4 separate regions of the Homo sapiens genome follow, and regions 2, 3 and 4 are each linked to region 1. Evidence: promoter capture Hi-C in 16 types of primary human blood cells and fetal thymus (Javierre and others, 2016). All regions are on one chromosome and are shown on one strand. Each heading gives the region's core, a stretch centred on a gene start or on the middle of the fragment in contact. The rest is flanking DNA. Distances are from core to core; before and after follow the strand shown. Region 1 holds the start of KDR (kinase insert domain receptor). Region 2 has its middle 1.7 kb from the start of LINC02283. Region 3 has its middle 85 kb from the start of EXOC1L. Region 4 has its middle 53 kb from the start of LINC02260.

Region 1 (2,618 bases), core at 57-2,556:
AACTGGCTGCAGGAAAGAAATATTATCTAAGGGGTTGAGAGAGAAAGGAAAGTGAGGAAGAAAAGACAGACAGCTATTGCATGAAGAACGTGTGTGTTCCTAATTGAAGGAGACGGAAATTTTAGGCGGCAGGGAGAGGAAGGAATGGCACTAAAGCTAGGTACCAAGGCCCACAGGAAAGGTTTTCGGAGCTTGAACTTCTGACTATGCGCTTACACCAAGGACCACAGCGCTTTGAAAGATGTGCAATGCTTTACGCAGGACAGTTGGCTGTTACTTGGAGACCCTTGGGGAAGCTGTCAAAGCCCCCAGGACAAGTCCCTATTCCCCCCCTTCTTCGCTCTGCAAGGAGAGCGGCGTCCTGCACCAAGGAAGGAAAAAAAGTTTCTCTCCGCTCCAGACCCCACTTCACACAGTGGTGTGCAAGTGTGTTCGAGCATGAAGACAACAACGGGCCGGGTCCCGCAAAGAGGCAGAACCGAGTGTACCGTCCGATCCGGGAGACCCGGCCTGAGATTCCGGCAAGGTTTTCTTCCCCGGGCCCGGACTAGGATGTTGCGCGCAGCCAGACAACTTTTCACCGCCTGTTCTCGCCTGCGGAGGCACCTCCTGCCTGCCAACCCCAGGCGCCTTCCCACCCCAGCCTCCCAAGAGCCTGAGGGTGTGTCGGCATCTCAGGACATGCTCCAGCCGAGGTCCCTGTCGCAAACCAGAGTCCTAGAAAAGGAACTGGGCTAGAGCACAGGCGACCACAGACTCGCTGGGTAATCTTGGGCCAGTCTCTGAGCCTCAGTTTCCCCACTGGTAAATGAAAGATCGCAAAATGTCAAGTCCTGTCCAACTCTCCAGCTCTACGATTCCGAGTTAGATCTGGCTTTCAGGTCCTCTCCGCCCTCACCCGACCTGTCTGCCTTCCTCCTCCAGAGTGGGCTCCTTACCCACAGAGGCGGCCCGGGTCTCCACGCAGAGCCACAGGGCGACGGCCAGCAGCACCTTGCTCTGCATCCTGCACCTCGAGCCGGGCGAAATGCCCAGAACTCGGGAGCCGGTTCTTTCTCCCAGCGCCTGTCTAGAGAAGGAGGCGCGGAGGTGGAACTCGCGGCACCCCGCAGCGCAGGACAGTTGAGCGCACAGGGCTAGGGAGCCCGGGCGCCGACCGCGGCTGCAGGGGCGTCTGCGGGTGCCGGTAGGAGAGGATATCCAGGCTGCCAGACGGACTTTCTGCGGCGCGCAAGTGATGCCCGGCGCAGGCAGAGGAAACGCAGCGACCACACATTGACCGCTCTCCCGGGGTCCCGGGACTCAGTGCAGGGTGGGAGCTGGTGCCGAAACTCTAGAGCGCGGAGGCGGGGCCATGCGGGGCGGGGCCGGAGCGGAGGAGGGGCTCTCCCGTGCGGCCAGCCCCGCCCCTCACCCGGGTACCCGGCGGCGATCTCCAGCTCCCCAAGCCCATTTACATCTCCCCATTTCCCCACACAACTGGACTGCGCTGGGCCCCAAGTCGCCCAGGAGAGAACATCCCAGAGCAACAACTTTGTTTCTGGTGTAAATAAAAAGTACTCGGTAACGGGCGCTGAGCAACTCCAAGATTTAATCGCTTGCCGGTCCCCGAAATTTGGGGAGCATCACCAGGAGCGCTGCGAAGAGCAGCGCTCCCTCACCAGGCGCGTCAAAGTGCAGGACCCTCTTCGCCATCGCGCGCGTCTGAAGTGGCCGAGAATCTGCAGCAGTTTGGAGCCACAAGGGAGAAGCGGATACTCAGCCAAGTATGCCGGGTCGCAAGCTGGCAGCGACTCCTGCCAGTAGTTTTGGTTTTTGTATAAGGGTATTTTGTTTGGCCAGTATAATTGTAGTTTAAAAAGCTGAATCTGGTTGCTCTTAATCAGAAAACGCACTTGCCCAGTTCGCCAACATTCCCGCTATTTCCCAAAATATTTGGCGGCTCCAAGTTTGAAGTGACCTGCCTAGCCCCAAGAAGGCTTTTGTCCATCGTGCTCCCCAACGAAGAGCCCTAGTGAAAGTTTGGCCATGCCCCTTTTCAGAGCAGAGCTTCCAGCCAAGATATCCTTAGTCCCAGGGGAAGGAGGCCAGCTGCCAGCGTGCTTCAGTGGAGGAGCAATGAAGCAAAAGCACCTAGGACACTCTGTGACCAAATTGCACAACTGTCTCCACGTGTGTGGACTTCTTGTGGCAGCTGTTTGGAGGGGAACTCCAATTCCTTCCTGACCACATTCGTTCCTTCTGGTTTTCTGTCCATATCTCCCCACACCTGGGGAGTGACATCAAATGTCCCCTAACTTCATTAAATATGAATCTTCCAGATGCCTATGTCTTTTACCTCCCAGAGGTGCTTTTTAATGACAACCTAAAGGACCATTCTTCACCAAGATAAACACACAGAATTATTATATCTACACCTAATTCAAACTAGATTGATTGTATACAATTAATGTAACCTGTTACTTATCTTCATCTGTTTTTAAATATTTACTGTATTCACGCTTTTACTTTTCCAAGTTGACAGGTGAAATATTTTAATGCTGAAATATAATGAATGTATATGGCAAAAAAAAATTTTGGAAAAACACAAAAAGGCTTAGAGTGAAAAGACTTTTCTT
Region 2 (2,618 bases), core at 57-2,556, 790 kb before region 1:
AATATTCCATTGTATAAATATGGCACATCTTGTTTATCCATTTATCAGATATGAACATTTGGATTGTTTCCTCCTATACTACATTTTGTGTGTCCCCTAGCATCTGAGGTTTTACTACTAAGCTCCTAACAATGAGACCTACTTCCCTTTTCTGAAAACATAGGTGGACTAAGAAACCCTGTTCCCTCTGGAATTCAGACAAATCAAATTATATATGTGTTGAGTGACACTTGAGGTAATGCCAAAGACAGAGGCTTAGAGAGTACCTTGCAGTGGTTTGTAATGATGGTGATCCAGGCAGAACCTGAGAGGTTCAGGGTCTGACATTCCCTCAAAGGTGATCAGGCTCAGGAGGCCTGACTCACATCAAACTCAACTGAAACCCCAACCTAAACCCAAACCACCTTAGAAACCAGGAAGCTAATTTATAATTTTATAATATTTCCAAACAGACCTGGAGGCCAGAGTTGGCTGATTTACATATGACCTTCCTGTAGGGAAGAGTACAGGAGATGTCAGGTTACTATCAGATAATTGCCTTGCAGTGCAGGCATAAGGGACCGGATAACTTTAAAGAATTGACATTTAAGCCATAACAGTTGGACATGCTTCCATATATGCCTGATAAGCTTTCTTCTGGTCATGACACTGCTTCTCAATAGTACTGGATAAACACTGACCACCTCTTGCCATTTTCACCATCTCCTTCTTCTCATTCCAAGTTGAGCACTAGCCTTTTATGTATGCTGAAATTTTAGAACACAATTATTTAGAACAGTAATTTCCAAAAACATTTTGGGGAGTGCTAATCCCATATATATTTATTTATAAATTATATACATGCACTAAAATTTATTTGTATATTAATTTATATGTTCAATGAAAGTTTATTTCTATAAATATTTATTTTTTCCAAAGTCAACTAAAGATGGATATTTCTATAAATAAATAAATAAGTAAATAAATAGTCTTGTTCCCCCCATTTAACGATCTCTGTTTTGGATTTTGTTGTTGTTGCTGTTCTTGCATTAAATCCATCTCAGGTCTACAGTTCTATTTTAACCATCTGATCTTTTGGTTGGGTTTACTTTCATTTGTACCAGCCTTAGAAGCCCATCTTTTAAGGGAGGTTATTTAGAAGAGGGCAGAAGGGCTACCTCATCTGTTTTATATTGATTCCGTTAGTTTCAATTTTAGCTGAGGTGACATTTTTTGTTCATCTCCCGAGATTCCAGAGAGAAGCCCACTGCAGCCTTCTAAGCACTGACTGAAACCTTGCAGGGGAGTTATATTACGGACTTAGGCTTCTCTGAGAAGAGAAATGGTAGGAGATGAGTGTCTGGAGTGGGTGGGGAGAGTTACTTCTAGCCTAGCAGAAATGTGGGTTAATGGCACCAAGATGGTGAAATTGGGGGTAGTAAAAGAACATGAGAATTGGCAAGAATGATGGAGAGCCAATGCTCATTAGCAGTTAGCCTGTTGGAAGTAGGCACTGTGTTCTGCCTTTGAACTACACTCAGTAATGGACTGTGGAGATGCTCAGAGAAATTGAAGTGAAGCTGGATCCCCTAGAGCACAGAACATGATGGTTCCAGAAAATTATCTGGTCATAAATGAGAGACACCAGTAAATTAGAATTTGGGTACTCTAGAGGGAAGAGTTTTGGCTTAAAAAAAGAATGAGTTGGGTTTCCGATGAAAAGGAACCTGCTTCCTGGGAGACCAATGTTGCTAAATGAGAGAATTCTACCCTTGGACGGTTTTTAAAGTTGCAAATTGGAATAACCTGGGAAGCCATAAAAATGCTGGTGCCTGAGTCTCAGTCCTAGACTTTCTGATTTCATCCATTTGAGACGAGGTTTGGCCACTGAGATTAAAACAACCACATACAGAAAACCTCCAGATGATTCTAATGTGCAGCCAAGGTTGGGAACCATTGCACTAGAGGATGGAAGAATGGAGTGGCCTAAGGAAATTAGAGGAGGAAGCTTGGGGAGGAAGTGGAGGGACCTGAACAGCCTAAGTAATCCTAGAAGGCTGAACCTCAGAGCCTTTGTGACTTCATCCGCCTCACTCCCATAGACACTGGAGAAGGGATTCACAAAGAAAAGGAAACAGGAAAAGCCTGGGATTTCTACTGCATGTCAGGAAAGTGACCATGAAACTGAGTCGTGGAGCCTTCTGTTTAGGAGCTGACCTCCGTCTTGGTTGCAACTGCAGGTGTTACTCAATAATTCCCTTGCAAGCCCAGTGCTGGAAGCAGCAAAAGTCCTCCATAATTGGTGTCTCTTATTGGGTCCGTTGCCTTCTCTCCCTTCTCTGCACCAAGCCCCCCACCCCCACCCTAGCCTCTGTGTACAGGGAGCCCTCCAGCCCAACCATGGATTTCTCTTCAATTCTACCATTTTCCAGGCATGAGAAGGAAGGGGAGGGAATGACTTCCTTTGGCCTAGAAATATCTGGGAGAATATGCTATACGGTCCTTGAGCAGACACAAAAGAGAATATTCTGGAGCTGCATTTTCCAAAGTATGTTTCTTAGATGCTGGATCCTCAAGGTGTTCCTCCCTGTGTCCGCGCAAGCTTGGGAAATGCAGCAGGCTTCCGCGCCCTCGTTGAG
Region 3 (2,618 bases), core at 89-2,588, 610 kb after region 1:
TTGGCAAGTTGAAGCATCATATTCTGACTTCCCTACAAACTATGATATTAGGATCCTTGGGACCATAAGCATTTTAGTCCATGGCTCAAAATGGCTATTGCTATTTTAGGAGAGCAGACTAAAGTTTTCGAGATAAAATTTGCATTAAGAATCAGTTTCACAGAACCCAGAGCTTGATCAAATGCTGATTACCACAATATTTCTCTATCTGTAACTGGCACTATCTATGAAAAGCAGCAGATTTTCATAACCATTTCCATCACTAATAAAGTGGCGCATTTGCAAAGTTTCTATTAAGATACGTTTATTCTCTCAGAATTTTATAGCCTTGGATTTTAAGAATTTAATGTAAAACCCACATGAAGCTAAATGTTAACAAAACAGTCAATTCTTCCTAACAGAAGAAGCATTTGTGGCTGTATAAGTTTGAAGAATAAAAAGTAATTCAGATAAATGGACTTTCTAAAGGACTCGTTTTGGCATAAAAACAGTTTCAGAAAGATGGTATATAAAGTTATGTCCAGAAACTGTAGAGTTGGTATTTAAATAAATATTAATAGGAAAGTTCTGCTAAGCCACTGCAGGAACATGTATCCTAATGGGTGTGCCCAGCTGGCAGCTTTCCAGTTGTACAGCCTCATATGACTCACTGCGTTGGGGCCTTTGGCCTGGACTACCTGCTCCAAATGCACACAAATACAGAGCTTCTTACTCGGTCTCCCCTGGAACACCTCACCTCACCTTTCAGACTTCCTATTACAGCTGTGGCAATGCTGCCTTAGGTGGACTCCTGCCTGGAAAGAAACAGGTTTTATGGTGGTGCAATGCCCCAGGTGGCATGCTTGCTGATCTTCAAGCTGTACTAGCAGAGACCAGCAGTCTCTATCTGGACAGACAGACCACTTCCCAGCTCCACTTTAAAAATCACAGCCTTTCTGCTTTTGTTCAAAAGTCAAAAAATGACAGATGTTGGCAGGGCTGTGGAGAAAAGGGAACACTTATACTCAATGTGAATATATTGGTGGAATGTAAATTAGTTTAGCCACTGTGGAAAGCAGTTTAGAGATTTCTCAAAGAAGAGTTGAATGACCATTCAACCCAGCAATCCCATTACCAAGTATATACCCAAAGGAAAATAAATCATTCTACCAAAAAGACCCGCACCTGTATATTCATTGCAGCGCTATTCACAATAGCAAGGCCAGGCACAGTGGCTCACACCTGTAATTCCAGTGTTTTTAGAGGTCAAGGCAGAAGGATCCCTTGAGGCCACGAGTTCAAGAACAGTCTGGGAAACATAGTGAAACCCTTTCTTTACAAAAAATAACTTAAATAAAATTAACTGGGCATGGTGGCATGTGCATGTAGTCCCAGCTACTTAAGAAGCCGAGGCAGGAGTATTGCTTGCGCCCAGGAGCTTGAGGTGCAGCAAGCTATGATCACACCACAGAACTCCAGCCTGGGTAACAGAGCAAGACCCGGTCAGTCACTCTTTTTAGATCATACTCTTTTTGAAAAACAAAAAAACAACAAATATAGAGACAATAGCAAAGACATGGAATCAACCTTAATGCCCATCATTGGTGGATTTACTAAAGGAAATGTGGCACATATACACCATGGAAAATTATGCAGCCATAAAAAAGAATGAAATTTTATAATTTGCAGCAACATAGATGCAACTGGAGGCCATTATCCTAAATGAACTAACACAGAAATGGAAAACCAAATACCATGTGTTCTCACATATAAGTGGGAGCTAAACATTGGGTATATATGAACATAAAGATAGGAACAATAGATACTGGGGACAACAAGAGTGGGGAGGGAGGAAGGGGGGCAATGGTTGAAAAACTACCTATTGGATACTCTGCTCACCACCTAGGTAACACATTCAACCATACTCCAAACCTCAGCATCATGCCATACACCTTTGCAACAAACCTACACATATACCCTCTGAATCTAAAATAAAAGCTGGAAAAAAATCACAGCCTTTCTGAACATGTGCAGGTGGCAAAGAGATACTATGCACAGTGCAGCTGAACAGCTCTTTTCTGAAGCATCAGGCCCGGTGATTTGGAGGCAGGGTAACATTTGGGGGTTGGGGAATGGCTAACCCAGCAGCAGGAAGGGGGATTTTGTTAGGTCAAGGGGAGTGGTGGACATACCCAGTTGTCAGGGATAGCCATTCAAGAAGGTGGGCAGGCAACTAGCCCCAAAGAGGTACAAAAAAACACATCAGGTGGTTATCCCAGCAGTGCATGGGCCGACAGGGAACTGAAAGTAACAAGATGGTAGAGATCCAGCCAGTGGTCAGCATCAGGAAGATTTGGAAGCAGATTACCAAGGTAGGCGTAAAGTTGAGGGGAACGCAGCAGCATCCCTGTTACTGGCACTGGGGTACAATTTTGAGTTAGAGCACAGGAATAAGGTAAGGAAGGGAAAGGAAAAGGTACTGAAATTGATAGGCAGCCTACTAACCTAGGTGCTTTAAGCATATGATCTTATTTAATTCCCACAACAACCATGCAAAGTAGGAATTAGCCTTATTATATAGGAGAGAAAAGTGAAGTTCAAAGAGAAATGAATTTTGCCAAAATAACACACTTAAGAAG
Region 4 (2,618 bases), core at 50-2,549, 570 kb before region 1:
GTGCCTGGCACCACATTTTCCACTATGGTATGTAGTATACTAGGTGAGGATATGGGTGGATCCAGAAAGATATGTGTGCAAATCCTGGCTCTGTTTCCATGCGACCTTGGGCAAACCACTTCAATTCTCTGGGTCTCAGTTATATCATCCAGAAAGCAGAGATGAATAAGAACGTTTCTCTCTTACAGGTTTGTTGTGATATTAGAATGAGGCTGTTCAAGTAACACAGTTAGCATGTGGCTGGCAAATAACTGTCACTAGAAAAATGGTAGCTGTTACAATATTTATTGGAAGAGAGGGATTGAGGGCCTTGTACATTCCTCTGCGGTGAGGAATACATTTAAGAGGCATGCTTCACATTCAGTTTGGAGTTGAGAGACCATGTGATGTAATGGGAAATATTGTAGACTGCAAAGTAAGACTCCCTGGATTTGAATCCAGAGAGCTGTGTGACCTTGCCACATGCATCAGCATTTTAGGGTCTCTTTCGCCAGAAGCAGACCCGAAATAACCATTTGAGGGCGGGTAGATCTTTCTGAGGTGATTTCAGGAAATATGCATAGGGAATGGAAAAGTCAGATGGAAAGGGAAGTGGCCAAGAAGCGTATGTTTCTAAGCAAGTTACCAGCGTGGAAGCTGGAGTGTAAGCCCTCCAGGGAAACTGGGGACACAGGTAGAATCATGCCTCTGAATTATCACACTCAAGGGGTGAGGGAGCTGGGGCCATTGTATGCCAACTCCCATCTGTCATTGGTTGAGGGTCACTTCCAGGGGACAGTAATTCCCCAGCAGGTCCTGCCTGCCACACAAGGGCAGAGAAAGCTCTCAGGCAAAGCTATGGTGGCAGCGGGAAGTTGGGCCAGCGTGTGCTGAAGTGGTGAGGGCTGAAGGGATACGGAGAGGAGCCCTCAGTATTGCTATTTTAAAGATGAGAAAATTTAGTTTCACATGGTCCCATATTTTCTCAAAATGGGATAATGATAGTATCTGCTTCGTAGAATTATCAGGAGAGTTGTGTAAGTGAACAACGCCAAGGGCTTCCATCAGAGCTTGTCATAGGGCAAGTAAGCACCATTTAAGTGCTAGTTGTCATCATCTGAAGATTTTTGCTGTTCTGTGATGTAAATTTTGTTCCCACCACCCCCCTCCACAATGTTTAGTTAAGCTGTTCAAACTCGCAAATACATTGGGGCGATGGGGGCTTGTGGAGCTAAAGGTAGGGGCTAACATTAACCACTGGTCCAACCACACAAATTCTCAATGATGGGCTTGCACAACATCTGGAGGCCTGCGGACTTTTGGGGGCATGGATTTGGGAATTGGAACCCTGCTCTTACCTCTCTCTCAAACGGCATGAGGCCACAGATGCTATCTGGGTTGTACATTAAATGGCAAGCCTCTGAAGGTAGAAACGGTGCCCTCCTGGCTGGATTGACTCGGCTTCTTCCCTGGCACATTGTAGACACTCGGTGATTGGCTATTGAGTAGATAAGCATGAAAACAGCTTAGAAAGCCAGAAAAGGAATGTTTCTGCCTAAAATCACGGGTGATTGATATCATCCTTACGTGCAGCCCTCACCTCACAACCTCTTGTTTCCCTGGCCACTTGGCCACCAGGACGCAGGAAGTAACCTGCACCTGACCCCCTGATGTTGGCAATGGGACGAGCTTTCCACTCTCGGCAGCATCTTGTAGAATACAAAGGACTCGCTGTAGTATTTATACCAACACACACATTTTAAATAGGCCCTCACTTCTTCCTGAAAGGAATCCAAAGACTCTGTTGGAACTGAAAACATTCATATTTATGTATCACCAGTTATTGAGGGAACACAAAGTGCTCAGCAAATATGATCTCATTAGTGCTCACGACAGCCCTGAGGGAAGAAGTTGGCAAGAATTCCCACCCTCCTTGGAGAGGTGAGAGTATGGAGGCCCAGAAGGCCAGGGAACACACGCCAGAGCCACTCAGCAGGTGCTCCAGGGAGCTGGGGCAATGGCAAGGAAATGGGAGGCTCAAGAGAAGTGTCACAATGCTGTGGCCTCCACAATCACTGCAGTGTCCAGAGGACAAGCAGAAATCTGGAAATATCCCCCATGTCTGTCATGATGCGATCTGATAGATGCCTGATGGTACTAACAATGAAATGCCATTCAGGTGTTCAAACAGATCCATGTTCTGTGGAGAAAGACATTCTAAGGCATTTAGATAAAAAATGCAAGTTTGCAAGAGTATATATAATATAGTCACTCATTACTATTAAGTAAATGTATAATATGAAGGGGAAAATCTAAAAGAGTGTATACCAAATTATATATGAAATATATATGTCTTTGTGTGTAAGTATTTTCAGAGAAAAGGCCTAGAAGAATGGGTACCAAATTATACTGAAATATACATTTATTTATTTTTATTTTCAAGGAAAGTTCTAGAAGAATGTGTAACGATGATTATCTCAATAGTTGGATTAAATATACTTTTCTTAGTCACACATTTGTTAATTTCCAATGTGCATTTTTTTGGTAATCGGATTAAAACTTTCTAAAAACCAGAAAAAAGGAAATTCATTGTCACCTAGAAAGTATTAAAAATAGAAAATAAAACTATTAAAATATGC

The links. Contacts are between HindIII fragments. The CHiCAGO score rates a contact against its expected background, and 5 or more counts as called.
Region 2: a fragment that was not itself captured here is called in contact with the fragment with the promoter of KDR in region 1 in 1 of 17 cell types (neutrophils); the score reaches 5.6 in neutrophils.
Region 3: a contact is called between a fragment that was not itself captured here and the fragment with the promoter of KDR in region 1, in 1 of 17 cell types (M2 macrophages). The highest score is 5.3, in M2 macrophages.
Region 4: a contact is called between a fragment that was not itself captured here and the fragment with the promoter of KDR in region 1, in 1 of 17 cell types (neutrophils). The highest score is 7.9, in neutrophils.

What each region holds. Positions count from the first base shown.
Region 1 is chr4:55,124,289-55,126,906 of GRCh38, forward strand. KDR (kinase insert domain receptor) reads right to left here and starts at 1,307. Exons shown (of 30, transcript NM_002253.4): 1 at 939-1,307. The coding sequence starts at 1,005. The HindIII fragment of the contact is 11,417 bases long and covers 1-2,618 here.
Region 2 is chr4:54,329,892-54,332,509 of GRCh38, forward strand. No RefSeq gene overlaps it. Among named protein-coding and RNA genes, the nearest start is that of LINC02283, 1.7 kb to the right of the region's middle. The HindIII fragment of the contact is 1,358 bases long and covers 628-1,985 here.
Region 3 is chr4:55,733,389-55,736,006 of GRCh38, forward strand. No RefSeq gene overlaps it. Among named protein-coding and RNA genes, the nearest start is that of EXOC1L, 85 kb to the right of the region's middle. RefSeq lists a cis regulatory region at 474-839. The HindIII fragment of the contact is 3,160 bases long and covers 1-2,618 here.
Region 4 is chr4:54,552,859-54,555,476 of GRCh38, forward strand. No RefSeq gene overlaps it. Among named protein-coding and RNA genes, the nearest start is that of LINC02260, 53 kb to the right of the region's middle. The HindIII fragment of the contact is 9,142 bases long and covers 1-2,618 here.